Linked DNA regions of Homo sapiens: all the other regions are linked to region 1. Evidence: promoter capture Hi-C in 16 types of primary human blood cells and fetal thymus (Javierre and others, 2016). All regions are on one chromosome and are shown on one strand. The core of a region is centred on a gene start or on the middle of the fragment in contact, and the rest is flanking DNA. Distances in the headings are between cores, read along the strand shown.

What was found. Contacts are between HindIII fragments. The CHiCAGO score rates a contact against its expected background, and 5 or more counts as called.
Region 2: a contact is called between the fragment with the promoter of ZDBF2 here and the fragment with the promoter of IDH1 in region 1, in 2 of 17 cell types (total B cells and non-activated CD4 T cells). The highest score is 5.8, in total B cells.
Region 3: a fragment that was not itself captured here is called in contact with the fragment with the promoter of IDH1 in region 1 in 1 of 17 cell types (total B cells); the score reaches 5.6 in total B cells.
Region 4: a contact is called between a fragment that was not itself captured here and the fragment with the promoter of IDH1 in region 1, in 4 of 17 cell types (total CD8 T cells, naive CD8 T cells, total CD4 T cells and 1 more). The highest score is 9.1, in total CD8 T cells.
Region 5: a contact is called between a fragment that was not itself captured here and the fragment with the promoter of IDH1 in region 1, in 3 of 17 cell types (naive CD8 T cells, non-activated CD4 T cells and total CD4 T cells). The highest score is 8.5, in naive CD8 T cells.
Region 6: a fragment that was not itself captured here is called in contact with the fragment with the promoter of IDH1 in region 1 in 1 of 17 cell types (M0 macrophages); the score reaches 7.3 in M0 macrophages.

Annotation. Positions count from the first base shown.
Region 1 is chr2:208,251,524-208,256,320 of GRCh38, reverse strand. IDH1 (isocitrate dehydrogenase (NADP(+)) 1) reads left to right here and starts at 1,250. Exons shown (of 10, transcript NM_005896.4): 1 at 1,250-1,382; 2 at 2,362-2,435; 3 at 4,754-4,797. The coding sequence starts at 4,770. It overlaps IDH1-AS1 (IDH1 antisense RNA 1), which reads right to left and starts at 1,088. Exons shown (of 2, transcript NR_046452.1): 1 at 890-1,088; 2 at 127-418. RefSeq lists an enhancer at 1,016-1,542 and a silencer at 1,996-2,105. The HindIII fragment of the contact is 4,060 bases long and covers 1-2,980 here.
Region 2 is chr2:206,271,925-206,276,721 of GRCh38, reverse strand. ZDBF2 (zinc finger DBF-type containing 2) reads right to left here and starts at 2,059. Exons shown (of 5, transcript NM_020923.3): 1 at 1,776-2,059. RefSeq lists an enhancer at 1,202-1,701 and silencers at 1,365-1,824, 2,105-2,164. The HindIII fragment of the contact is 6,855 bases long and covers 1-2,838 here.
Region 3 is chr2:206,684,826-206,689,622 of GRCh38, reverse strand. All of the region lies in intron 9 of DYTN (dystrotelin), which reads left to right. It also overlaps the pseudogene VPS26CP1. Among named protein-coding and RNA genes, the nearest start is that of DYTN, 31 kb to the left of the region's middle. The HindIII fragment of the contact is 1,117 bases long and covers 1,320-2,436 here.
Region 4 is chr2:206,769,778-206,774,574 of GRCh38, reverse strand. It overlaps FASTKD2 (FAST kinase domains 2), which reads right to left. Exons shown (of 12, transcript NM_001136193.2): 3 at 4,381-4,484; 4 at 3,285-3,393; 5 at 2,558-2,681; 6 at 2,255-2,394; 7 at 178-350. Among named protein-coding and RNA genes, the nearest start is that of FASTKD2, 6.6 kb to the right of the region's middle. RefSeq lists an enhancer at 3,677-4,797. The HindIII fragment of the contact is 4,118 bases long and covers 112-4,229 here.
Region 5 is chr2:206,786,448-206,791,244 of GRCh38, reverse strand. FASTKD2 (FAST kinase domains 2) reads right to left here. Exons shown (of 12, transcript NM_001136193.2): 8 at 4,346-4,512; 9 at 3,090-3,308; 10 at 2,342-2,426; 11 at 559-673. Among named protein-coding and RNA genes, the nearest start is that of MIR3130-1, 5.5 kb to the right of the region's middle. The HindIII fragment of the contact is 5,023 bases long and covers 211-4,797 here.
Region 6 is chr2:209,523,019-209,527,815 of GRCh38, reverse strand. All of the region lies in intron 2 of MAP2 (microtubule associated protein 2), which reads right to left. Among named protein-coding and RNA genes, the nearest start is that of MAP2, 100 kb to the right of the region's middle. The HindIII fragment of the contact is 871 bases long and covers 2,149-3,019 here.

The DNA.
Region 1 (4,797 bases), core at 1-2,500:
ACTTGAACCCAGGAGGCGGAAGTTGCAGTGAGCCGAGACTGCACCAGCCTGTCAGGGCAAGACTCTGTCTCATAAATAAATAAATAAATAAATAAATATTGGAGCATTAAATTCTGGGCAGCAATATACAAGCATGCTATTGTCCTACAAATCACAATATAAAATACTCTTTATTTTCATGTTTTTGAGAGCAATGAACACACAAAATATAATCTCTGGAGGAGACTAAAATTCTTTTTTCAATCCACCGTTTTCTAAGGCTTCACATCTCTAGTCCAACTTCATTGGATCACAGATAATCCCCCGCCAACTGAGCATGGTGGCTCACGCTTGTAATCCCAGGACTTTGGGAGGCCGAGGAGGGCCAATCACTTGAGTCCAGGAGTTCGAGACCAGCCTGGGCTGCTGAAACCCATCTCTACCAAAGGAAAAAGAAAAGAAAAGAAAGAAAGAAAAATTAGTTGAGTGTGATTGTGTGCACCTGTAATCCCAGCTACTCGGAAGGCTGAGGTGGGAGGATCTCTTGAGCCCAGGAAGTCAAGGCTGCAGTGAGCGGTGATCGCTCCACTGCACTCCAGCCAGGGCAACAGAGCAAGGCCCTGTCTTAAAAAAGAAAATAATAAGAATCCCATTCATTATCTTCTAATGCAAACAATCAATGGAGTTTCTAAAGACCTAGACATAGGTGGTGTCAGGACCTGCTTCTGTAACTTTTCCATCCTTTGCATTAGGCAGCGCGGAACCCCCTAGGCGACCCCGCGCTGGCCGGGAGCACTCTTTCTTCAGCCAAAGGTACGTTCCATTACCGCCCCTCGGGGGCGCGCTAGGCAGCGGGCCGGCCAAGCTGCCGCCGCCCAGGGCGCCCTGTCCCGTTCGCTTTTGTGCCGACCTGGAAACACTCTGTGGTGCTCTAGATTGTTACAAAGTTCGGGGTGGTGCAGCCCCAGCGCGCCCCGCTCCCCGGCCTGCAGGTGGCATACAAGTCTCTTCGCTGTCGGGATTCGGGACTGAATCTCTGCCGGGCGGCAACCCCTTCCCCCACCGGGATCACCGGGAAAGTGGCACCATGGATTCTCCATCTTTGACTGTGGCCACGCCCCTCTCGCTGACTCCGCCCATCCCACGGGAATTGGCGTGTGGCGATTGGAGGCGTGTCGGGGGCGGGGCTGGGGGAGGTGGGCTGAGGAGGCGGGGCCTGGGAGGGGACAAAGCCGGGAAGAGGAAAAGCTCGGACCTACCCTGTGGTCCCGGGTTTCTGCAGAGTCTACTTCAGAAGCGGAGGCACTGGGAGTCCGGTTTGGGATTGCCAGGCTGTGGTTGTGAGTCTGAGCTTGTGAGCGGCTGTGGCGCCCCAACTCTTCGCCAGCATATCATCCCGGCAGGTAACCTCAGGCTCCAAGGGGCGGCCCCGGTCCCTGGCTGTGGAGGGGTGGCTCTAATTCCGCAGAAGGCAGGAATGGGGTAAAGGAAAAAAGCGCAGATCTTGGGTGTGGAGGGAGTCAAGGCCTGCGTGCAAAGAAGGGAACAAATCCAGGTATTGAGAATGGGAAAAGAAAAGGGAAGGAGGGGATGCTGGATGCTTGGATATGCAGAAGGTCTGCTTTTGGGCCTGGGAGGGAGAAACTGGGCGGTGAGGAAGTTGGATGCAACGACAAGGGGAAAATCAGGTCTGCACTTGGGTTGGAAAATCGAGGGGTGGAAGTTGCAAGAATGCATGTAGAAGACTAAGCCTGGAGTGTAGGAGGAAGAAAACGTGCAGCAGCTGGGGGCTGGATGCAAAGAAGGCTGTAAGCCGCAGACGGGCGTCTGCAGGCAACTCAGGCGGCGAGGAATAGCCTTGAAGCCGATCCCTCGCGTCCGCCAGGGGGCGTGGAGGGGCGGAGCTCCAGCGGCCTTCAGAGGGGTCGCTAGGCCACACGGGGCGAGAGGGGGCTGGGGGAAACACCCCCGCCAGTTCCGGGTGCCTGGAGTTTAAAAGGTCCCAGCACCAGCGAGGGGAGGGGAGGGGAGGGGCGGGCGTGGAGACCTGGAAGGAGGTACCGATCCAGCCTTGATTGCAGCCCTCTTGCACAACGGCCATAAGGACGGGTGCAGGCCAAGAGCAAGGACATGCAAACCCCAAGACCTGCTAACGGGCGGCGAAGCGGGGGCACGCCCTCGCACACGCAGAGATAAATTGTGCTCCCATGACCTTTATTTGGAAAGTGCCTGCGGGCCTAAAATTGGCCTTTGTCCCACCGAGTACACTCAGCACTGTACTTTAAACCGGATAAACTGGGCTGTCTGGCAGGTACTAAAAACAGCTAAATTCTCCTGTGAGTGTTCTGTATGTTAACACTTTTATTCCTTGTTTTGTTTTAGGCGATAAACTACATTCAGTTGAGTCTGCAAGACTGGGAGGAACTGGGGTGATAAGAAATCTATTCACTGTCAAGGTGAGAATTAGCAAATTTTCCCCCTTCTTCTGTACTTTCTTTGATGTGGCAGTACAGTGTTTAACTGGTCTTGGGGGCAGGCCGAGGCACTGCAAGGGAATGAGTGAGGAATATTTCCAACAACGAATTCCAACAGCTTCCTTGTTTCTTTTAATACAGTGTCTTATCTGCAAGAGATCCTTTTTGCCCAGAAATTATTGTAGTTCATGAACTCGGCAAAAAACAATCTGGCCAAAAACTTGAGGTTGATGAAAATAATATTAAATGGCTCTTTTTTTTCATTAAACTACTCTGTATTGTTATTCCAGGTTTATTTTCTGGAATTGCACAATTATGTTAGGAGATAGGATTCAGCTACTTCATATGAGCTGGTGCCTGCTGGTCTTGGAACAGCCCTTCCTTCTGAAGTTGGGATTGGGTTGGAGACAAAATCTGAGGGGCAACAAAGGTGGAGAAGTCAGTCCAGTGGGGCCTCAAGCCCATCCCATGGAAATCAGATCCAGAAGAAATACAATTATGTTCCACATGGTAGTAACAATAAAGCTTCACTGTTTTAGTTAAAAGATGGTAAAAATTTCATGGCTAAGTAATGTGAGGAAAACCTGAAGCGTCTGAAGTATGCATTATGAGATAAAGAAAGATTACTGCAGAGAGTACAGTTGCTTTAACTGAGAAGGAAATAGTGAACTAAAAAGATATCAGTCTTCACATTTTAGGTACAATATTTGACCTCTATTAACTGTATTTGCCATCAAGAATAAATTGCCATGTCATGACTGTTGCATCATACTATATAGGGACATGGCCATGGAAGTGTATTATCAGGAACCAGATAAGTTCACTGCCTCCTTTTTTGCTTTGTTTTAAAACAAGGATAGGTGTGACAGTGGAATCAAACATGAACTGAATCATATGCTTTCAGCTGTACTACAAATTATACTTGACATTACAAATGGGAAGTAATTGACTCATCCACACCATTCTGTTCATTTCTTTTAGTCTAGTTCAGTTCCAGAAGGTTCCCCCAAAGGAATCTCCTAAACACTAGTAAGAAGAATTCTAGAATTGCGAATTTGGGAAGTGAAAATGGGCCTGGGGATTGGAAATACATCCAGGCTTGTCAAGAAACAGACGCTTACTGTCTACTAATCATTACATTTTTATTTAAAGACCAAATTACTTTAGCTCAATTTTTCAAGAAAGACTATTTTAGGCTTCTTATCTAATAATTCTTTAAAGTCAATTCTCTTGACTTTTTTAGTCCTTAAGAGAATAAAAGCAATTTGCAGCTGTGTTGTTGGATTAAAAAAGAGTTTCGATTAGAGCATCATTAGAAGGAATAGATAACTTTTAGCAGGCTCAGAGCTTCTTCTGCCTCTAGGGACAAGCTGGGACAGTTTCATTTCTTCCAAAGCGTCCAACCTTGCACTTTCTGAGAATCAGATTGATTTGTATATGCTACCCCCACACCCTATCCTTAAAGTGCTGTCTTCCTAGGACAATGCACAGTTTGTCCTATCCCACTCACTAGCAGCTTACCCTTGCCTGTGAACAGCCAGAAGAAGATGACAGGGACATGCTTGGGTCCTGGGCAGTGGCCCTACTGTATAGAGATTCTTCTAATTGAGAAATCACTTTGTTGTATTTAGCCCCACATCTCCAATGTCTGTGTTATCTCTAGGAAAACAGTTCCACCAGGAATTCTTCGTCTCGCTTTTAGACTTAAAGTTTCCCTGAATATGGGTCACAGGAACCAGCTGAATCTCCTCATGGCTAGTTATTTTTATTAAATAACAAAAACAGCCTCTTAAAGGAGGAGAAATGCTAGCACTCACCATTCTGGACATCTTGAGAGCCCAGTAAAATGATGAGTTGGACTGAAGTGTTCAATAAACATGAGATTGTGGAAATAATCTCATTTCTTAAGACAAACCAGTAGTTGAGAATAATGATTGCATTATGAAGGGCACGTTATAGGGTCAGGCTCTGCCACGCTCTAGCTAGGTGGCCTTGGGAAAGCTCTTTTTTTTTTAACAAAGTAAAATGGGGAAATGATGGCCATTTTTTTGGATTGTTATGAGGGCTAGCTCAGAAACCGCGTGTGAAACATAACACAATACTTTGTTCAGAGAAGATACTCAATTCTAATGGTAAATAGAATTGCTGTTACTAGCTTTTTATTCAACTACACATAAATTGAATTGCATGAATTGTTCTTTTAGTAGTCACTACGTTGTTTATATAAACACTACGTTGTTTATATATTTCACTTTATAATGAAATAAATGACAAGGCATGTATTTTTTTTTTCTTTTTAGGTTTATTGAAGTCAAAATGTCCAAAAAAATCAGTGGCGGTTCTG
Region 2 (4,797 bases), core at 810-3,309, 2.0 Mb after region 1:
ATTCCCATTTAACAAATCAGGGAACTGAGGTTGAGAGAAAAGAGGTATCTTGTTGCAGGTCTCACACCAATAACCAGCGTAACTGAGATGTGATCACTGGTCAATTTGAGTAGTTTATGCTTTAACCTCTTAACGACTTAGACACTTCCTCTCTGTATTTTTAGGAATACTACTTGTTTTAATATTAGGTGAAAACAAATAATTAGGACTCTTATTTGCTGCAATCAACATCACCACTATTCCAAAGAAAAAATAAAACTAATGTCTAGTTTAATTGCATCTTGCTCATTTGAGTGCTGACAGTACCTTGGATTAGCGACTCTCAAGATTATTTAACATGACACACAGGAACCAATAAATTTTTAATTACAACCGAGCACACACGCACAGGCACATACGCACACTTAAAAGATTTTTCACAAAACAATACTCTCATTACATGTAATGCAGTCTGATATTTTCTATGCGATCTTACTTTTTTTAATGCTAGTCACGACCCACTAAATTTCACAATGCACACGCGCACAGTTAAAATATTTTTCACAAAACAATACTCTCATTACATATAATGCATTCTGATTTTTTTATGCGATCTTATTTTTTTTTAAATGCTAGTCATGACTAAATTAATTTCACCATTCACGAACCGGCTGAAAAAACTCAGTTTGAAAAAACACTGCCTCCAATTATTATGCAGAGTAAACCATATTTTATAGAAACCAGTTCTTACCCTGAATTCAGCTTATTTCTATCCAAATCACTGGCCACTGCAGTGATACTTTATCAACTCTCTAACGAGTTGCTTTCTTGCCTTCTAGGCTTTAGGTTCAAACGATAGAGAAAAGGTCTTCCACGTATTAAGTGAAAAAAGCAAATAAACACCCCTTATGTAACACACGTATATATGTTTGTGTATTAATTAAAAAGGAAGGAAAGATACCCCCCAAATTGTTAGCAGATTCTCTCGAGGATGAGATCGCTACAGGCTGCCTCCATCGTCCCTCCCCCTCCCCACACGTAGCATATTGCTGTAAAAAAGAAAAACAAAAACAAGCTATTTCCTTTAGGTGGGGGTGGGGTTTTGGTCCCTTGAGAACCAGTATCTTGTTATGCATTTTTTTCACGAGCTACCAAGAATCATCGCGTGAGATAATCGCAGGAGCTGGTAAGGCCCTTCTTAGGAGCAAGTAAAAACGATGGCGTAACACGACCACATTTACACAACTGTTGCACGGCGGTAGTAAAAGAATCATTAACACAAAAATCAAACGTTTTCAAATAAACTATAATCGCCCGAGGCTGGGAAAGGCCTAGGTCTGGGGCCAGCTGGACCCAACGCAGGGCACTGGGGGAAGGGGGTGTGTGGACAGGTGGCTCGGGATCTCGGCCCCACAGGTGCCCAGGGGCAAGACTCCGCGGGTTCCCGGCCCTCAATCCGACCCCGCAGACCGCCCCCTCCCCAAGCCCGGACCCGAGGCCTCGTCCGCCGGCCCCTCTGACCCAGGGCCCCGGACAGAAGCGCAATGCAGCCTGCGCCCCACCTCCTTCCCTCGCCCCGCCACCTCGATCCCGGCCCGGAGCCGCCGACACCTCTCACGCAGCAGGGGCAGAAAGGGACGCGGGGTGGGGGGAAGCCGAGGACCTGCGAGGCGGCCGCGGGAGCCCAGCGAGCGGTCCTGGCGTCCCTCGGGAAGAAGGCGCCCCGGGCGCCCGGCGAGCAGGCCCCGCCCGCGGGCGTCGCCCCGGCCGCGCCCCGCCCCCGCCGCGGCACTCACCTCCGCGGAGGCTGCCCGGATTCCTTCCGGGCCGCGGTGGAGACCGAGGACCGAGCCGGGCGCTCTCCCTTCTTATTCCGGTTCCGCGGCGGCGCCCGAATCCCAGACCGTCCGAGCGCCACGGCCCCGCTGCCCGCGGAGCCAGAAATAGGCGACTTCGGCCCCTGCGGTCCGGAGGCGAGAAGCGGCGCGGGAGCGCGTCTCTCAGGACGCGGGCCCCGAGTCGCGACTCCACTCACGCAGGCATCCAAGGCAACGTGGCGTTGCAACCCTGATGGAGGTTTGACGTCAGGGAAGGTGCGAAAACCAGACCCCTTCTGACGCAGGAGCGGCGGGACCGCCCCCTGCCCGCCCACCCACTCACTCACTCTCCCACCCGGGCGGAGGAGCCCCTTCCTCCCCTCCAGAAGCTCTTAAAGCGGACACTTCCTCCCTGGTCAGGGCCCCACTCCGGAGCTTGGGAAATCTATCGCGTTCCAACAAAAATGACTAGACTCATAAGCACAGTTGGGACGCGAAGTAGAGACCAAGGTTTTAGCGTTTGAGGGTCCAAATAAAAACTGCTTGCCAATTCAAAGCAACGTATGAATGTAGAAAAGAAAACGGGGCTAAGAGAGCTAGTCGTTTCCGTTTCCATGCCTATTTCATAGTGAGGTGCATCTCACAAAAGCTGCTGTTCAATGAGCGCTTGCTCTGTGCTAGGCACCGTTTAAGGTTTCTATACATTATTGCATTTCATTTCAGAGTAACTCTGAATGAATCCTATTATTGTCCCCCTTTGACAAATTGAGAAAACTGAGGCTTAAGGAAGTTAGGTATTCAAAGATCTATCCTGCACATTAAAGGGTTACAAATATTAACAAACAACATTAGGTCATGCAATTATATTCACTGCGCTACCCCATTACGAATATAGTTGTGAGCAAAAACAGTTTAAGTGTAACGGAGATCACAAACCTAAATGAATCACACTACTGAATATGAAATTATAATCTGCGATAAGAAGGTTCTGAAACACCTAAACCAATTTTACTAAAATGGAGAGAGGCCCTGTTGCAAAGCTTATGTCTAATGTAAAAATAATCTTAAAATGAGCTACTTTGCTCTTTGGCTGTAGCTGTAATTGTCGTTACCCTTTTTAGTAAGCTTGTGATTTTGTCCCTTTAAAGAACAACAACAAAAAAACTTGCCTATTGCTTTTGCGTCCATTGTTTTTATTCTTTCTGTATTTCTCAGCTCCTTCTTCCCCCACTACATCTTTCTCTCACTTTAAAGTTGGGCTCCTGCAACTGTTCGATTTATAACCTCCCTTAGATTTAACATACCAAAAAGTACGGATTTCTTTTAAGGCAAGTTTTTTCCACATCCCAACTTTGGAATTATAGAAAATCCACTATACATTGATCGAAGCACCATGACATTATGTATTTCACAGATGCTAAGCCATGTTTTTCCCCACATTTTAACATCTGTGAAATCAAGATGCATCTTATAAACTCTCGTTGACCGGGTGGCAGTACAGACCTGGTTGTCATTACCTCCACGTATTACAACGTGGATGTTGCTGTGCAGGTTGTCCTCATTTCAACTGAGATAAGTGCATTGTTTAATAAAACCCATAACCCTAGGAGGAAGGGAATTAACAGACAAAAGTCACTCAAACTTGGAGAGAGATTTTCCTAGGGAAAGAGGGAAGATTTGCCTGGAGAAGATTTTCCTAGGACCAAAAAGAGATTTCCCCAGCATTTAGAAAAGAAAGAGATGGGACTGGCTAAGAACTAGTAGTCTTCTGGGAGCCCTGAGTTACTTACCAAGTACATTCATTCTTGATGGATTTTGGGAACCCATATATGAACAGTTAAATACTAAGCCTACTTGCACCCCCCAAAAATGAAATAACTTCGATATTATTCTTGATAGCCTGATTAGTCAGTTACAACCCCTACAGCTTTTATTCAATAACACCATTGAAGGAGGAAAACAAGTCCTGAATGTTTTGCGTGAAAACACAAAATTGACATATTCAGGTGAGATCAAGAAGGTGCCAGCATCAAAACTTGCAGAATAAGATCAGCTGCTTGGAAGAAAATCCTGCATACAATAGTGCAGCATTCTTCCTTCCTTTCTCTCCCTCTCTGTTTTTTGTTTTTGTTTTTGTTTTTGTTTTGAGACAGGGTCTCCTTCTGTCACCCAGGCTGGAGTTCAGTGGCGCAAACACGGCTCACTGCAGCCTTGACCTCCCAAGCTCAAGCGATCTTCTTGCCTTAGTCTCCAAAGTGGCTGGGACCACAGGCGTGTGCCACCATGCCTGGCTAATTTTTTTACTTTTTGTAGAGATGGGGGTTCTCACTTTTTTGCCCAGGCTGGTCTCGAACTCCTGGCTTCAAGGGATCCTCCCACATTCACCTCCCAAAGTGCTGAGATTACAGATATGAGCTGTAACTGTGCCCAGCTGGAGCATTCTTAAAGTTAGATGCATCACCAACACTTTTGGTGGAAAGCTACAGCCATGGACAACTGATTCAAAAAGTGATTCATAAAAGTTGAGCTCTGGGCTTGGCGCGGTGGCTCACGCCTGTAATCCCAGCACTTTGGGAGCGCGAGGTGGGCGGATCACCTGAGGTCAGGAGTTTGAGACCAGCCTGGCCAACATGGCGAAACTCCATCTCTACTAAAAAAAAACACAAAAATTAGCCAGGCATGGTGGTACATGCCTGTAATCCCAGCTACTGGGGAGGCTGAGGCAGGAGAATCACTTGAACTTGGGAGGCGGAGGTTGCAGTGAGCTGAGACCGTGCCACTGCACTCCAGCCTGGGTAACAGAGTGAGACTTCGTCTCAAAATAAATAAATAAATTAATTAATTAAAAAAATAAATAAAATGAAAGTTGAGTTCCGAATATGAAGTTTCTGAAATACCTAAACCAATTTTACTTATATGTCTCTTTTTATGCATTCACAAGATCAATGCATAATAAATGTGTCAAAGTCTGAGAGTGCTCTTTTACTGAGTATGAAATAAA
Region 3 (4,797 bases), core at 629-3,128, 1.6 Mb after region 1:
CTACTCCCAGAGTAGTATTTCTGGAGGTGAGATGAGGAAAGGGAATTACAAGGGCTGTACAAAGCCAGGGTTCTCTAAACGTCAATGAGTTGTACTCTGTCCACCCCAAGTACAGTAGAGTTGTTCCCCAAAATAACATTCTTATGTAATAATTTTCAGTGTACCCTAGACTTTGATGAGTTCAGAAATTCTGATTTGTGGCTCATCTAGGAGAAAAGAATGTGGAATATTACTAAATCACAATGTAATAATAGTAAAAAACACATCTTTGATATCTATTATGTTGGCACACTAGCACTGACCATCTTCTAAGAGATTAATGGTTATGGCCAAGTGATAATATTGAATTCGTTCAATGATTCAGCAAACTATCTGCATGGTAATAAGCCTTCTCCCTTTTGATGTGGTTTTATTTCCTTTACACATGATAGTTTGCACTGAGAATACTTTCATTTACAAAACCAGAACTGAAAGTTAGGTGCCAAATATCATCACTCTTATTAAATATTTCAGGAAGTTCTTGAAAACATAGTTAAAAAGAAAATTAAACTGCAGAAAAATAACAGACAGAATTACTTCTCTTTGTAGCTAATTTAATTGTGAATTACTAAGAAACCCCAAGTAACTAGCAAAAATTACTAGAATTAATAGGCTTCAAATGATGGTGGAAAAATAAAATAAACATATACAAAATTCTTCACTCTACTAGCAATAACCAGCTATAAATTTTGTAAGAATCTCATTCAAAATACATGTAAAAATTATTTTTAAAAGAAACTACAAAAAAGTTTAACAAAAAAGATACAAGACCCAAATAAAATTATAATATTTTATTGAGTACAGAAAACAAGTCCTGAACAAAAGGAAAAAATGCCAAATTTCTAAATGAGAAGACTAGCATAAGAATGTACCTGCTCCAAAAATTAATAGCTGATTTTTGTTATTTGCAGATTCAATACTTACAAATTTGCCTACTTGCAAAAATTTATTTGTAACCCTAAAATTAACACTCCTGGTGCTTTTTCAGTATTTGCAGACATAAGCAGAGTGGCAAAAAAATTTTGAGTTGCCTGATGCACGTGTTCCCAGCTGAGGTCAAACCAGATAGTGCTCTGTGTTACTGTTTCAGCCCTCATTCTATAAGCAAGTGTCCTTTTCGTGTCTATTTTGTGTCTTGTTTTTTTATATTTGTGCTTTTTGTTGGTGATTTTACTTTGGCAAATGGCCCCAAAGCACGGTACTGAATTGCTGTCTAGTGTTCCCAAGCACAGCAAGGCTACGATGTGCCTTAATGAAAAAATACACACGTTAAATAAGCTTCATTCAGGTATGATTTATATTGCTGTTGACCATGAGTTTAATGCTAATGAATCAACAATATATATTTAAAAAGCATCTTTATACAGAAACACATAAAACAAGGTTGTGCATTGATTGGTTGACAAAAATATTGTGGCCAGAGGCTTGCAGGAACCTAACCCTGTATTTTCTCTAGGAACAATGGGTTCAGTATTTCCTAATTCACTGTTCATGGTAGCCTTATAGAGCATAATCTACTGTATTTAAATTTAATGCATTTCCAGATAGAATCACAAGGTTTTCTAAATAGGATAAAATAATTTTGAAGGTATGTTGGAAGAATAGTTGTACAAGAATAGTAAAATTATGAGACTGAAGAATAGTGAGAGACATTAATATCTGAAGAACAGATGTTAATACAACAGATATTAACACTTACTATAAAACTACTATGACCAAATAATATAGTATAAAACGGGAATGAACATGTAGGTCTAAGGATGAGAATACAAAATATAATAATTGATCTAAGCATATATGGGAACCTAATATATGATAAAGGTGATATTTCAATTCATGGAAAAATAATGCATAATTGGCTATCCATCTGAAAGGAAAATTGGCCCTTATTTTGCCCCATATACTAAAACAAATTCCAAATTGATTGAAATTTAAATGTAAAAAGAATTTAAAATAAATATTAGAAAAAAGAACATCTCCTAAGGAAGAAAGAAAAACAAAAAATCATGAAGGAATAGACAGATATATATGATAGCATGTAATTTTAAACATTTTGTTATGGTAAATGATAGTATAAACAAAATTAAAAATAAGCCCTAGACTTAGAAAAATATTTTCGGTAATAAGATAAATGATGCTATTAAAAGGGTCCCTGAAAAATTGATAAGAAAAACTTGATGTGAGGTCAGAAGTGTTGGCTGCTGTGGAGAATTCAAAACAGGGACCTCCCTGGACATCAAGATGGAAGAGCAAATAGTTTCTCATGCTGGAGAAATGCTCTCCAGTGTGGTGGTCGTATCTTGTAAGGATTCAGTCCCACATCAAGTAGTGTCTTTGACAATGGAAGGAATTGCAATCCCCCAGCTCAGTGCCAAAAGTGTGGGCAGTTTTGAAGCTTTTTATAATTCCATTAAACCTATCCAGATTATCAACAGTGCCATAGAAAGGATGAAGCCAGGGAAATTTCCCTATGGCAAAACAAATTTATTTCGCATTTCTTCTGTATGTGAGGGGTAACAAAGTTCTGTATGAGACTTATTATCAGACATTCAGTATACACTACGCTGTGACATGAGGCAGTCTCTGTTGACCAAGGACTTGACAAAGGCCGGTGAATTTACCATCCACTCTGCTCCTCAGGAGGGGAAGTTGACTCCAAGTCCTGTGGACTTCACAGATTATACCTGCAACCTTACAGAATATCAAAGAGAGAGCCTTGCTCCCCAGATTTCTCATTCGAGAACACCCCAACTCAATGAATTGTGTCATCGTGCAGCTGCTTACAGGAGAGCTGGTGGTGAAAAGGCATGGGGCTGCAACTGGTGCACATGGAGACCTGTGGGTGTGCAAAAAGCTATGCCAATGATGCCACAGAGTTTCCTTATATTCAGATGCCCATGGGGACATTTGTAGGGGCCTCTCTGTCCCTATATACATGGTCTTCTCCAGGCTGTTTACCTGCCGCATGCTGAAGACCAACTTCAAAGTGGAATTTGAGGCCACCATCGACATGCGTCTTCATGCTAACCACCTGGTCACAGAGAACTTCCTATTGCAGCTCTGCAGGACTCAGCCCAGGAGGAGGGAAGCACAGAAAACAGGGGTGGCCTTGTGGATATCCTGCTGGTTATCGTTCATGGGGAACTAAAGCCAGCAGTATATACTTGTTTTTGTGATTATTCTGTATCAGAAATGAAATGGACTCCTTAAATTACAATTATTTTTCCTCCTCATTTCTTCGAGGCTTCTACTTCCAAAAGTCACCTTTAATCATATCTTTTCTTTGAAATTCAACAGAATTTCTTAATGCTGTTTGCAAGATCATTTCACAGAAAACGTTTCCTGTGACTTACCTGTTCTTGTACCAAAAAAGGCACAGAAAACCTGTTGTGACAGCCATTGGAGCTGTGCTGGAAAGTAAGATCATGGGGGCAAAAGGAAACTTCTCTCTGACTCGCTAATAATGAAAGTAGCTGAGCACTCCCCACAGCAAAGGGTCTGTGGCCAGGTGGCATTGCTTATGAAGTTTGTAGATACCCTCCAAGGAAGAATGCAAAGTGGCATCCACTGGAAATGTGTAGCTTTTTTTTTTTTTTTCCGCACTCTATTTCTGTAGTTCTTTTTATAACATTTTTCAATATAACTTCAACATTTTTAGGGAACTGAGAAAAAAGCGTCCCTTGCTCTTATAGGAGTAAGGGGATTTGGCTGGTGCTGGAGTGTTTCTGAACTCTCAAGAACTGTCATAAGAACTCATGCTGCCATATTCCGGGAATATATTTAAATGCAAAGTTATGTAAGGGGAAAAAATGAATGTTTGCTCCTTTTGTTATAGGGAGGGTTCTGAATGGCAGGAGCCCCGTGCCCAGGGTGGGTGGGTGAAGGCTCCTCTCCCCAGGGTGGTGCCAGGAAAATGTCCTTGACTTGATGAACTTGGCCTGCCCCTCACCCACCTGAGGGACCTGTTTTATCCAGGGTTTTTTGACCTGAAGCCAGTGTTTCCTCAGTCTCCCTTTGTGGTTCAAAGTCAATGATGAGTCTGTTGCAAAACATTTCTTCCTTCAAACCCTATCATTGTTTTCTTGGTCCACAATTAACAGGTTCTCAAAAATAAGCTATGTGACCAGGTAAAGTGGCTCATGCCCATAATCCCAGCACTTTGGGAGGCAGAAATGGGAGGATCGCTTGACCCCAGGAGTTCGAGACCAGCCTGGGCAACATAGAGAGATTCCGTCTCTACAGAAAAAATTAAAAATTATCTGGGCGTGGTGGTGCACGCCTGTGGTTCCCGCTATTCAGGTGGCTGAGATGGGAGGATCGCTTGAGCCTGGTAGGTCGAGGCTACAGTGAGCAGTGATTGCGCTGCTGCACTCACTCCAGCCTGGGTGAAAATGTTTCAAAATAATAAATAAATAAATAAATAAATAAATAAATAAATAAGCCATGCTACTTTGCACACTAATTGCCCTTCTTTCATAGTTGCCCTTCTGTGCAGGCCTGGGCAAGGCAGGCTCAGGCTGAAGGCCTCCCAGGCTGTACTTCCATTGTCCTGTAACAGTGTTTGGTGATCTGTAATGCTCCCTACATTACATGCCTTCAATGCTGAGGGTAAACAAACCTGATTTAGGCACTGCTTTATCTTAGGACTTCACCAATTAAACTGATAAAACTTATTATCTGAGTCATTTGTAAGTTGCTTCTTAGAAAATACATTTCTGGTTTATAAATCTTTTATGCTCATATGACATTAATAACTAC
Region 4 (4,797 bases), core at 921-3,420, 1.5 Mb after region 1:
ATATAAAACAAAATTTTGTTTAACCTTATAAATGAGTAAGGAACACTATGTTTTATTTATTGGCATGGATGATGACTATGGGTGTGTTCACTTGTAATAATTCATTAAGCTTATGATTTATAACCTTTTTTGTAAGTTATATGGCAATAAAAAAGGTAAAAAAAAACAAGTACATACTCTTTGTTCTGGCATTTGTAGACATGATTGAGAGAAGAGTAAGTATGAAGAATAGATAGAATGTTTTTCATGTTTAGGGATTCAGGATCCTCTACTATTCTCTTCATAAACAGGTCCATTAAACCAACAGGTCGAAAGCCAAGGTTTTCAAATAAAATGAGGATAAAAAGAACCTTAAAAAGAGAAAATTGAGGGAAAACTCTATAATAATTACAGTATGCTAATAGTAATTTTTTAGATCTCAAAAAATCTAAGCAGCAATTCAACTGTCCTGATCAACAGAATATATCCTGAAACAGAATATTTCCATGAAAAGGAACAATCATCTTTCTCTCACAAAATCTGTTCTATTAATTCTTGAATTGGGTATCAAGTTAATAAGCAATCTTTTTTAAGCTGAGAACCAGGGCATACAATGATTTCTACGTTTCCATCTGATTTAAAAATAAATCTCTTCCTACATGCTTTTCATACAACATATCTGAAAATTACTTTTAAATATGCCTTTTCTGAAGGTTTTCAAAATGACCAACTCAATCTTGAACTTCTCGCATTCCCAAACTTAAATACTTCCTAGATTCTAACATGTAAGACATAACCCCAAAATTTCTATATTTAATATTCATACCTATAAGTGAAAATGGAACTGAAACATTATGATTAAAATAAACTTTCAAGTTCACCTCCAATTTCCTTCTCAATCTTTCTTACTTAGGATTATTACTTCTCTTTCTATAACCAATTTCCACAGTAAACTCAATATTTACCTTACTCTCCAAAATAAACTGAACCTAGAGATCTAACAGTTATCACCTATTTCATTGCAAAAAGAAGTTTTTACCAGGTGCTTCATTAAATGTTTATATTCTTAACACAGCTCCTGATTTTAAAGGCTTTTACTCTGGATAAAACAATGGACATGACCATTAAGTAGTGACATTTTATTCTTCAAAAACCCCAAGCCTGTCACATCACCCATCTTTATTATTTGAAATCTAACAAGAACAAAGTATAAACACGGAAATCATGCTAAATATCTAACAAAAGTACCATACAACCCTTTTTTTTTTTTTTTTTTTTTGAGACAGAGTTTTGATCTTTATTGCCCAGGCTGGAGTACAGTGGCACAATCTCAGCTTACTGCAACCTCCACCTCCCAGGTTCAAGTGGTCCTCCTGCCTCAGCCCCCCTAGTAGCTGGGATTACAGGGACACGTCACCATGCCCGGCTACTTTTTGTATTTTTAGTAGAGATGGGGTTTCACCATGTTGGCCAGGCTGGTCTTGAACTCCTGACCTCAGGTGATCCACCCACCTTGGCCTCCCAAAGTGCTGGGATTACAGGCGTGAGCCACCGCGCCCAGCCCATACAACCCTTTTAAAACGAAAAAGAAGAGCAAATTTTTGTTTCAAATAGAAAGATGACCAAAGGATAGAATAGTATACAGATTGTCCTTGACTTACGGTGGGGTATATCCCAACAAACTCACCATAAATTGAAAATATTTTAAGTCAAAATGCATTTAATACATCCAACTTACTGAACATCATAGCTTAGCCTAGCCTACTTTAAACACGCTTAGAACACTTACATTCACCTATAGTTGGGCAAAATGAGTTAACAAAAAGCCTATATTATAATAAAAGTGTTGAATATCTCAAGTAATTTATTGAATACAATATGCATTGTTTACCCTCATGATTGCACAGCTGATTGGGAGCTGCGACTTGCTGCCACTGCTCAGCATGAAAAGAGAGCATCATACAACATATCACTAACCCAGCAAAACAACAAAATTCAAAATTCAAAGTATGGTTTCTACTGAATGCGTATTGCTTTTGCAACATCAAACAGTCAAAAAATATTAAGTCAAGCCATCCTAAGTTGGGGACTATTCATATTAGCAAGTAGCCCCCAGACAGGAATAATAAGGAGCTAATTTTTCAAAAGTCAATTCAGCATTGGAATATTTTGGTATCTTAACTACTATAAAGGTGAAAGAGAAATACTTAAAATGCTACATGAATTAGTGTTTTAAAAGTTTGTGAGGCTTATTCTAAATTGTTAATGTACTCACTTTTCTGAACTTCCAGATGTCGAAAGTTGCAGCCACATAATCTGCAAGTCCCTTGAAGAGATCCAAATTATGGTACTGGAGGTCTTTGCAGGACTGCAATATGTTGATCATTATTCTTAAAGGACACCCATGGATATTATCTTGAAGAATGAGTTAAATAAACAAACAAAAATTACCTGATTGTTTTGAATACAACATGCTTTATTCTTTTTTCATATAAAAGCAAAGTTTTTAAAACAAAACAAAAATAGTCTAAAACAGAAGCTCAGGTATTGCAAATGATGAAAGAAAAATTCCTCTTACCTAGGACCACCTTACTGCATTCATCCAGGAGTATAAGAGATCGGTGATTCATGGCAGCTAGTACTTCAAACATGTGTTGGCTATTCAAAACAGAAAATCTGTCTAATTCCCTCAAGGCTTTCATCTAAAGAAAAAACAAATTTTAATTTAATTTACTATCTGTGACAAAATAAATTAAACTTTTATTTTTATTGAGACAGGGTCTTGTGCTGTCACCCAGGTTGGAGCCTCAACCTCCCAGGCTCAAGTGATCCTCCTGCCTCAGCCGCCCATGTAGCTGGGATTACAGGCATGCACCACCTACAGGCATGTACCACCACGCCTGGCTAATTCTTTGATTTTTTTTTTTTTTTTTTTTTTTTTTGCAGAGACAGGGTCTTGCTCAGTCACCCAGGCTGGTCTCAAACTCCTGGGATCAAGAGATCTCCCTGCCCTTGACATCCCAAAGTGCTGGGATTACAGGTGTGAGCCACCATGTCTGGCCTAAACATTTATTTTTAAACAAAAAGGATGAAGTTTGGGTAATATGACCCAGACAGATAAATAAATATACATGTATATATATACAGATAAATAAATATAAGGGTACTTCTATTCATTCACTTTAGTGAAGCTAAACCTAAAAGCCCAGCAATGTCCTCCTAGAAAATTGACTTCAGGCAGTGATAGCAGGTTATAAGAAAGATTTTTTCAAATCTCATCCACTAGAGAAAATTCATGTGTTTACCTCCAGTTTCCTCTTAAGAGCAATCGGTGCATCTTTTCCAATACACTTCATCACAACTTGTAATGTGAAGACATCTTCTATTTTCCAAACTTGCTGATCAACTAGTATTCTGTTATCAAACACAATAAATATTAAAATCATAGAATCTTCAAAGCAGAAGAAAAATCTTAAAATTTCATTTGGTCCAGCCCCTTCTTACAGGCAAGGATTATGAAGCCCAGAGAAATGATCTACCTGCTTGAGAGAGTGTAAGTAGTTAAAGATCGAGACCCAATCTATTAATAGTGCTATTTTCTCTCACATTATTGTGCTGTCTTTACTAAAGAACAAATTATGTCAGGAGATTATAGTAACATATCCTATGCATAGTCAATGTCAAAGGGAGTTAAGTTTTACTCTCACTAATCTATGACATTAGATCATTTATATCAATTTTATAAATCCCTTTTCAAGCTGGGTCAACGTCAACCCTCACATAGTCCCCGAATAACTATTCTGAATTAAATATACATATCAATTCTCTCCTACCCCGCATCAGTACTATTTTTTTTTTTTTTTTTTGAGACAGAGTCTCGCTCTGTTGCCCAGGCTGGAGTGCAGTGGCGCGATCTCAGCTCACTGCAAGCTCTGCCTCCTGGGTTCACGCCATTCTCCTGCCTCAGCCTCCCAAGCAGCTGGGACTACAGGCACCCACCACCACACCCGGCTAATTTTTGTATTTTTAGTAGAGACGGGCTTTCACCATGGTCTCGATCTCCCGACCTCGTGATCCGCCTGCCTCGGCCTCCCAAAGTGCTGGGATTACAGGCATGAGTCACTGCGCCTGGCCAGTACTATGTTTTAAAATAAATTAATTTAGATTTCAATGTTACTCACATCTTTGTTATTATGGACCCTAAGAGAAGTATTTCCAGCCTATGTCATCCAGAGTCAGGATTTTAAGCTTAATAAGGTATGAAAGACTGTAACTACCAACAAAGCCTCCCCAACCCCTCCTCCCCTCAAGAAAGGAGTTTAGTTTTCATCTCAATTTTTTTATTCCAGATATATGAGGAACAAAGAAAACCACATGAAGAAAGCATAAGAGAGTTCTCACCTGAATCCCGTTCGTAGAACATGAACATTCTTGCATGGTTCCATTGCCTCTAAAACAGTTGACAAAACTGAAAGGCATATCTCATCACACTCATTGATACGTTCCTATTGAAATATAATTACAAAAACACTACAGGTGATGAGCCCATAGTAAACTATCTTACCCAAGCAAAACCACTGAACTGATGTACTGAATAAAACGATTGAGTATCAAACCAACAATTCCTACAGTCAGTCCACAATAAACAGCATCTTTGGGAAATAAAAAGTCATACTTACTGAATTTTCCAGCTGACTGATACACATCCTTTTATGCATCAACACTTTTTTACCTTCACCATTATCACTGAAAACACATTTGATATTTATTATATTCCACTGCTTCTGAAACAACTTTTATTAAACATTATTTTTACCT
Region 5 (4,797 bases), core at 1,473-3,972, 1.5 Mb after region 1:
TAGATTCCAACAGCAACATATATATAAATGTATTTGTAAGGTTCCTACTACCTAGAAACATCAGAAGAGGCTGTTCAAGAGAAGCTGTGGGGTACAAAATAAAATTGAAGCATAAGAGGGAAGAGAAAGACCCATCTTCTTAAAACCATCCAGCCTTTTCTGGCAACAAACATCCTGTAACAGCTTCACACAGGCCATGAAAACAAAGCTTTAACATCTTTCCTTCCCTTGTTCAAGATAACCTGGAAATTAAATATGGTTTTGTGTATCTTAAATATGAAAATATATTATTTGCATTCTTCTTCTTAGCAAAAAAGGATTAAAGCTGACCAGAACAACATTTGTAAAAGCTCTAGTAATGACAGTAATCAGCTGAGCAGAACCCAAATCGTGTACTAGCAATGTTCTTTTTCAAAGAAAACAGTAACTAAAGCACTCATTCCAATAATGCTGACAATTCCTCTAGTCCTAGTAACCAGTCTCAACCACAAGATTCCTGGCAGCTGTTAGAATGTACATCAGTAATTAAAGAATATTTCATTTGCATTTTTTTCTCACCAAGATCACATGAAAACCCATTGCATTCAAATGCCGCATTTTCATAGCAAGGAATCCTCTGGGGTGGCTTGAACCCAAACAATAAGCAGATCTGGAAACACATAGCACAGCTACTCTGAAAACAAAAATAAACAAAACAAGAACAGTTATTGATATTACTATTTAGTCTTGCTGCATTCTTGTTCTCTGGAGATTTCCAAGTTGAGCTCTCCACCGACCACAATCCTTGATATTCCTGTCTTAGTCCTTCACTTCTTTTACTTGGCCTCTGCAGATATTCCACTATACAAGGCTACTTTATAAATCAAAAATATACAACATTATACACAGTTACCTCTCAGTTCCCTTTAAGGATGGCTACATTTTTGAAGAGGAAAATTTTCAGACATGAAAGCACCAATTTTAAGGGTTTTCTGTGTAGTGCTGATTTCTGATCTGAGTATAATTATTTATTCTACCAGTAGTAGTAACGGTGTAAATAATACCAAATAGTAAATGCTCTTCTTACACATATCATCTCCCAGAGAAAGCAGCATTTAAAAAACAGAAATAGGAGTTTAAATACAAGAAAGAAAACACCAAGAGAAAGGCAAGACTGTTAAAATAAAATCTGTAAATATAACGAAAATGTGGAAGGTGTAATTTGTTTTTTCATTGTTCCTGGCACTTTGGAAATACTAAGTTTACTGGGAGAAAAAAAGAAAAAAAAAAGACATTTATATCCTTACTGCCTTCACCTATACTCTGGCTGTTATAAGACAAATTTTATGTTTTTAAAGGAATGCTCACATTCTTCACTTCTCATGACTTTATGCTGAGAACAACTGTTATTTTATTATGCCAGAATAGCGGAGTACCCGAAAAAGAAAACTGATCTTGGAATGAGGTCAGAGAGAAAGCCTCTTCTGAGGGGAGATGGGTAGCACTAATAGGAAAGACAGCGGTTGAAAAGATGGCCAAGAAATAAGCTAGATGCATTCAGAAAGAGGTGAAAGTCACAGAACTGTGTGTGAATGAAGAGGGATGGGCAGATAAGAGCTTGGATCCCTACAGATTTTTTTGTATGTTTCTATCATATTTATGTGTGTGTGTGTGTCCAGTGGAGTTAACAGAAGATACAAGTTCCTTGGGGTCAGGATCCATGTAGCAGAGCTTTTACATAAAGGGTAACTGACCCACGGGTGTGTGCAATGATGGCATGATCTTATGCATCTACTGAAGAGGCAGGATGTTCTCTCATGGTATAGCATCATATTTCTCCCCAGAGACACTCTATTTGTAATGTGTGAGCCAAAGAAACAACTTAGGATTAGCTTCAATGTGCTCTAACCCATACAAATACAGTTTAATTAAAAAACTACGGTTTCTCTACCTCTGGAAAAGTCTTGGTGGTAGAGCAAAATATTTATTGGGTATTTGATTTTTGTAGAAGCCTCGAGTCTTTATTCTTTATGATCACTATTATATTATCTTGTCCAAAGTCTACACTGCATTGATAGTTTCAATTATATTAATATTGTTTTATTGAACTATAGCTTCAAAACCTAATTTTAAAAAAATGTCTGTCTCATTAAATGACCAATACTGTAGTCCATTGTATTCAACCATAACGTCCACATTTACACTTTCTAAGGAGTACATTGATGGATGACAAGTCTCTTGGTGTGCTGCAGGCTCCATACAAACATCAAGTCTTAGATTTACTACTGCTATTTAATATGAAGTCTTTTAGAATTAGGATTTTAATTCAGAAAGCCCAGCAAATGAAATATATGTAAGCAACCTTTGAATATCTGTAGCAGAAGTTGTATCCACATCAGAAAGTGGTAGCACTTGATTCCTGTTAGTGTCCATTCTGATTTCAAAATCTGAAAGGAAAGAATTGATATTAATTTTTCAAACATTCCTCCAAGTGACTTTCTTTTTCTTTTCTTTTCCTTTTTTTTTTTTTTTTTGAGATGTGGTCTCGCTCTGTCATCCAGGCTGGAGTGCAGTAGTGTGATCTCAGCTCACTGCAGCAACTTCCCAGGTTCAAGCAATCCTTTTACCCCACCCTGTTGAGTAGCTGGGACTACAGGGGCATGCCATCACGCCCATCTAAGTTTTGTATTTTTTTGGTAGAGACAGGATTTTACCATTTGGTCAGGCTGGTCTTGAACTCCTGAGCTCCAGTGATCCACCTGCCTCGGCCTCTCCACATGCTAGGATTACAGGCGTGTGCCACCGTGACCAGCCCCAAGTGATTTTCTGTTTCAAAATGTTTAATAGTACTACCAATAATGATAATAGCAGTAGCTAAAATATATTGAGAGCTAACCATGTGTCAGATACTAGTCTTGGGATTTTAGACACATAAAAATGTGTAGAATTTCATTTATTGGTCACAAGAATTTTATGAGGCAAGAATCAGGCCAGTTCCAGAGGCAATGCTGCACTACACTAAACTGCTGCCACAAATACCTATTTTTTTGGTCAGAAAAAAAGGAAAATAAATACAATAAAATGAAAGGAAATCATATAATGTCCCATACCAATATGATAATTGTGTGGCAAGTGCACATCCTTTGAGAAGTGTCCTTCACCTCCCAGAAGGCTGCTCAGCACCTCTGCCACCTTTGCATTTGTATGTGACGATGGCAGCTCCCGCGGCAGCTGTGGGAGTGACAAGGCTATGTCCCTCAGATAGACAGTATCATCAAGTTTTAGACAAGTATCCAAAGTATGCAGCTTGTAAGCATTCTTCATGTCATCTAAAAGATGAAAAAGAGAGTATATCATTAAGAAGAAATAAATGCAACATTAAAAAACTATATTAGTATATATTTAGTAATAGTTATAAAATAATAAATATATACATAAATGCACTTGTATTTCTAATTATCTCTTTCTTATCACAAGGACTCTCTCTTTGTCTCCCTGGTTTCCACAGGGTCTAAATCAAAGCCCTGCACTTGATAATGTTTTAAGGCTTCAAATATCTTTAGAGGTCATTTAGTCTAAACTCCTCAATTTATGGATAAGGAAATGCCCAGGAAAGTTAAAAAGCCTCGTAATTAAGGCAAAGTTGGAACTAGAATCCAGGTTTCCAAGGTTCAAGGCTGTTTCTCCATTATTACACTGCCTGAAAAACCAGCACGTGGTATTATTGACTGACTCTCTACAACTCAACTTTGGGATTTTATAACATTTATTTATTTATGTTTTAATTCTGAACTACTCTATTCTCAGACACATCGTCAAATTTTGTACATCTACCTGAATATTGCTTTGCCTTATTTAATACTAAAGACTAAAAGTCAACAGTTAATTTGGTTCCAAGAGTAAATGAACTAATTAATTTGGTGGCTATTTGGTTTCTTGATCTAACAGGTGTTCCCTCATCACAGGCCAGGAGTGACCAAGTGTTTACAGCTGCAAAAATTGACTTAGGTTGGCTTCAAATGTGATAAGTAAGGATTAGGAATTAAAACAGCTCTGATCAAAGCATAAAGAACAGCCTGAACAGTTAGCCTTTGTATAGAAGGATAGAGTATAAATAAAAGGAATAATGATGCATTCCTTATTTTTTTCTACATGTAGGACTTGTCATTAAAGAAGGGTCTGTAGGTTTGCTGCTTTGAAGCACTATCCTTTGACTTCACCATTATCAGCCCTTTCCACAGCAACACCTGCTCTGCAAATTTCAACTAACACTGCTCCAACTAAGACCCCATTCAGAGTCATATGGTAGCTAGTGGTAGTGCAGAATTGGTCACAATTGGTGACCAATTCTGCACTAACATCCTACCTGATGTCAGCAGCTCACTGATGATGTCTTTTTGCAGAAGCTGATTAAAAGGAGCCAGGGGAAAGTAATTCATCAAGCAAAATGAATATACTGCATCCAATAAGTTTTCAGAAGAAATAGTGTGAAGATAACCAGTCAGAGCACTAGCCATAACTTCCACGAACTGTCTGGGGAACAAAGAAAAGTCAGTTTCCCAACATATACAGAAGGCCAATATCTGTAACGATTCCAAAGAAAAGAGATAAGAAAATCAGCCTTGCAAGTAAGTATCCACACATCATTCTGGACAGTTGGTTATCTCATAATAAGTGTATACATTCAATAAATGTTGGCTATTGCTGTATGTCTTGCACGAGACAAACATTTTATAGACTTTAACTCATTTAACTCACACTAAAAAACTCCATGGGTATTACTATTATTCTCCTCATTTAAAAAAATGGGTAAACAGG
Region 6 (4,797 bases), core at 1,335-3,834, 1.3 Mb before region 1:
AGCCACACATTTCTGATTCACTAGGTCTGGGGTGGAGCCCAAAGATTTACATTTCTAACAAGTACCCATGTGATGCTGATGGTGCTGGTTCAGGGGACACTCTGAGAACCACTGTCCTTCATGAAGGAAGGGCATAAAGAAGCCAAATCAGGAGCTCAGCTCTCACCTCTAAGAGGGCACAGCCACACATGGTGTCACACTAAGCACCTGAGAAAGATCCATAAGAGATGGTTCCTTAATCAAGTATGTAACCTCATTGTTGTGAAGAAAGCTGCTAGTGGGATGGGAATTGTGGGATGTGGTGAGAAAGAAGAGAGGCGGAGTACACGGCTGCGAGGGGAAGACCAGACAACAGTAGGCATCGGTGTATGCGTGAAAATAGTGACTAAATTCATATTCATTGAACAGATATTATTGAGCAACTATGATGTGCCAAAAACTTGGCTAGATGTTAGGGACTCATCAGTGATCAAAACAGAAAATGTTCCTGCTCTATGAACATTCTAGTTAGGTGAAACAATAATTAATTGTACAAAAAAATATATCAGATATATCAGTAATATAGAAATGCTATGGAGAAAAATACAGGGTAGAGTAAGTGAGGATTAAGTGTTCTTTTTTATTTCTACACAGGGTGATACAGGAACGATGTCCACCAGATATCACACTAAGAACTGCCACAAGAAAATGAGACAATTCTAATGTGTAACTTTGCAATCACTTTTCTCCCAGATGCCAGGATTAGTATAAAGAGCTCCAGATAGTGAGGGTGCAGAATTCATAAAAGTCCATCTGCCTGGAGCTCTGTCCTATTCATATATTCACAAGTCTCCTGGTTTAATTAAGTAAATCTGGGAGAGAAGAAAAAGTATTTGTTGGTTTTGTAGTCAGTCAGCTTTACAGATTCCCCACTATATTCCATCATAGATCTGCCATGGATGATCAAGCTTAGGAAAGACATTTGTACATCTTATATCTCAGGTATGAAATGAAACTTTTCTAACACATGACCATCATCAGAAAACAGGGATGCCGTTAGATTTAGTTACAGTTCTTATTATAGCAGCACTTCCTTCTTTCACTTTCAGGGTGGCAAAAAATAGGACTTAGGTCAGCTAATACTTCTGCAAGGATCTAGTATGAAGATAATCTAGTTAGAAGACACTGTTTGGTTAGTTTTCAATGATCCAAGGAAAGATTTGCCCCAGGGAGAATCCTTGCTCTTTTAAATTTATAAATGCATATATCCTAAGCAAATACTCACGTATTTTACCCAAATAAATCTAGAGTGCTCTTTAAAAAAAAAAGAAAGAAAAAAATAAAGAAACAAACCAAAAAACGAAAGCCTGAGAAAGGTCTCTCAGCCTCCCCCTTCTGTATTTCTCTCTATGTACTCACATGTGGATATTAATTTTATATTCTTTAAATTGGATTTCCCTCCACTTCCAGAATTCTCAGGCACTCAGACATTTAGTGAAATATGCTATTTGCTTTTGTATATTATTACTATTTAAACTCTTAATTTTCTGCATTTTCATGAGGTCACTTCCTAGACTCCTAGTTTCCTCTTTTAAACCACAGCTGCCTCAAGCTGACTATGCTCAAAAGAATAGGACTTATGAAAAAAGTAGGCATTGCTAATCCACTGCTAGTTGAAAATACTTTCTGAATTATCAGACCTTCTGTAAAAAGCCCATGATATGCTTCATTATGTAAACAAACCTCCTCTGTGTTGCTTTTTAAGCTTGAAAATATCAAAATCATGACATAACATGAGAAGAATTCCATTTTGACAAAATGAAAAACACAAAAATTCTTCTACCCAGAAAAAAAAGAAACAGAATGTAATGGGGGAAAATAAATGCAAAAATAGAATTGGCTAGAAACCAGCAACCACAAGAAAAGAAATATGACAGGAAATGGAACTAATCAGTTACTATAGTGAAGAGTTTTTTCCCCAGACTTTCTTAGGAGAAAAAGAGAAATTCTAAAGAAATGTAGAAACTAAGAGTTTGGACAAAGTTATTTATATAATCTTGAACTATACAAAATTCCCTGAGAATGTATATGTTTTTTGAAAGGACAATGGAGTTTTTATTTAGCGGAATTTTGAAAGTTTATCTTCTTTGGGATTCTTTTGGTAAAGCTTTAGTTAGAAGGGTTGGAACTTTTGAGGAGTAATTTCTATATAACTACACTATGATATCTTTTTCCAGAGGCAGAATTATCTTCCTTTCTAATTCAAGGCCACTCGAAGGCTTAGTCCATGCAGGAATGGGCTTGCTTTGTCAGAACCCTCTTCAGCTCAGCAACAGACATTGCCAACAGATTAGCCTTCCGTGAATAACAATTCTTCATACACTGGAAAATTTTTCACATGAAAATTGCTCCTTTGGGTTATTCTCCCATTACAACTTACTTTTATTATTGGGTTATTTTGGTATAGACTATATCAAGTTTTTTAGCTGTTTTATGCCTAGATAAAATTAGAAGACGTCATTTCTAAATATAGATATGAAAAATTAATCTCTATATTAAAAACAAATTTAGAAATAATTGTCATTTATTTGCTAGTTGTTTTGTGACTCTAAGTTTTAAAAAAATTAGTAGCTAATTCACTTAACAAAAGTCATTTCCAAAATGTTTGACAACCTCTGAGCATGTCTACAGAGATGGTAGATACAGAATAGTCTTTATTTAATTTCTAATATCCTACTGGAAAAATATGGATAAAAGCTAGAACGTATATTAAAAATAATACGGCTCATCTCCATTTAATTTATATACAAGAAAACCCAGGTCTCAAGATTTGAATTTCCTTATTCAAGGTAACACAGCTGCTTAGCAGACGAGACAAAAATTGAAACCAGGTCTCTGGATCCCAAGGGACACTGATGGTCCCTAATTATCATGGGGTAAGAGAGATCCACCAACAACCAAATAACAAACACAACAGGTAATGAATTGAAAAAAAAATTGATATTAACTTTTTTCACACCCTTTGTAATCCATAGAAGCTTATTCATAAATAAATTAGTGAATGTCTTGTGATTCAATTGAACCAACATTTCCCAGTGTTCAGGCAAGACAGAAAGACTGAAAAGAGGATGAATGATGAAAAGGTTCCTGAGTCAAAGTAATTTATTGAATTTTTCTTTTTCCAGCTCTATTATTTTACACATATAATAATGAAAGTTGATGAATGTATACTTTATGCAAGTGTGTTACATATATTACCTGGTAACATATTATATTGTATAGTGTATTGCATGTATTACCTTATTTATTTCCTTTTATTGCTATTATCTTAATGTTTAATCTCATGTTTCGAGGCTACTAACATAGCAATTATCATAAAGCTAACAGCCAGCATTTGAAACCAAATCTAAATGATTCCAATGTATATCTCTATCCAGTGAATTATATTGCTTAATTGTTGAAAACTCTCCCTGACTCTGGATTATGTGTGTTAAAAATAAAAAAAAGAAAAAAAAGAAAAAGACTAAAGAAACTACTTCTGCCTGTTGAAAAAAATCATATTTCTAAAATTAGATACAAATAACTATTAAAATTGATTCTAAATTGGGATAAATAAGATAAACAGGACTTTCAAAATGAATGCCTTTATGCATCACTGAGCATCTAAAATGCCTTCTCAAGGTTTCCATGCCAACCTTTCTAGAATGCTAAAATAAGCTGTGAAACAACATTTACTCATACCACAATATGTAGTTTTTGATGCACTAAATTGTTTCGCTGCATTTAATAAAAAAAAAAGCTCAAATAAATTTTGAGTATTTAGCAAATGGGGGAAGTAAAAATGGTACCAGTCATCAGTGAGCAGGCAAACAATGTAACTTTTGTTTGTCTAAATGAGACAAGCCTTAAGAAGGACTTAAACGGAACTTTTCATTTCTGCTAACATCCTTTTTATGTATATCCATAGTTAGTCATCGCTTTTCAAAATAGAGTTTTATAAAAGTTATGTTTAAATTATAAACAACACTAAGCACTTAACACTGAATATATAAAAGACAAATTTGGAAATCTAGGGCACTTCAATCTTTGATTCGGACCACCTGGCAAGAGAAAAATAAATGAATAAAAAGCCAAATGGAGCTGAATAGGTCTCATGCAGTTTGAAGAGATTTCTTTTTACCTGTCAAGCTCCTTAAAAGTAAATATTGCAGTTTGACTGCTGAATTACGACAGGAGCCTCCAGTGGAGAAGCAGCAGCTCCTGCAGGCTGGAAGAGATGGGCAAGAGAAGGGCCTAGCATTTGGGTCCAGCCTCCAGCATGCAGAAGACGTAGGCTGAGGAGCTCAGACAGGGTGGTTAGAAAGGGAATACTCAGGACAGCAATAGAGAAGGGCACACAGGGCGCTGGAATAGTAACAGCAATCCAACAACAGCAATGAGAGTAAGAGTGAATGTGGGCAACATCATAAACACTAAAATTATATCAAGCAACGCACTAAGTTCCAGAAAGACAGTAATGACAAGCCATGTGTGGTCTCTGACTTCAACAACTAGGAATCTAATTAATCTTTAAAACATGTTGATTAGGGAGGGAGAATAAAGCGAAATGCCATGAGAGATTGCATTCGGGGTGTTATGGGAGTGCACAGTGAGGGCATCTCGCCCACTGTAGGAAAGACGGCTCTGAGTAACTGAGGTCTAAGCATTCACTCCTAACAGAAAAAAACATGGAGAATAAAAGGAGGAGAGATGGCAGGAAATAAGGCTGAAGAACCATTTACTGACTTAACTAATTTAAGCTGAATGCAAATGTCAGAT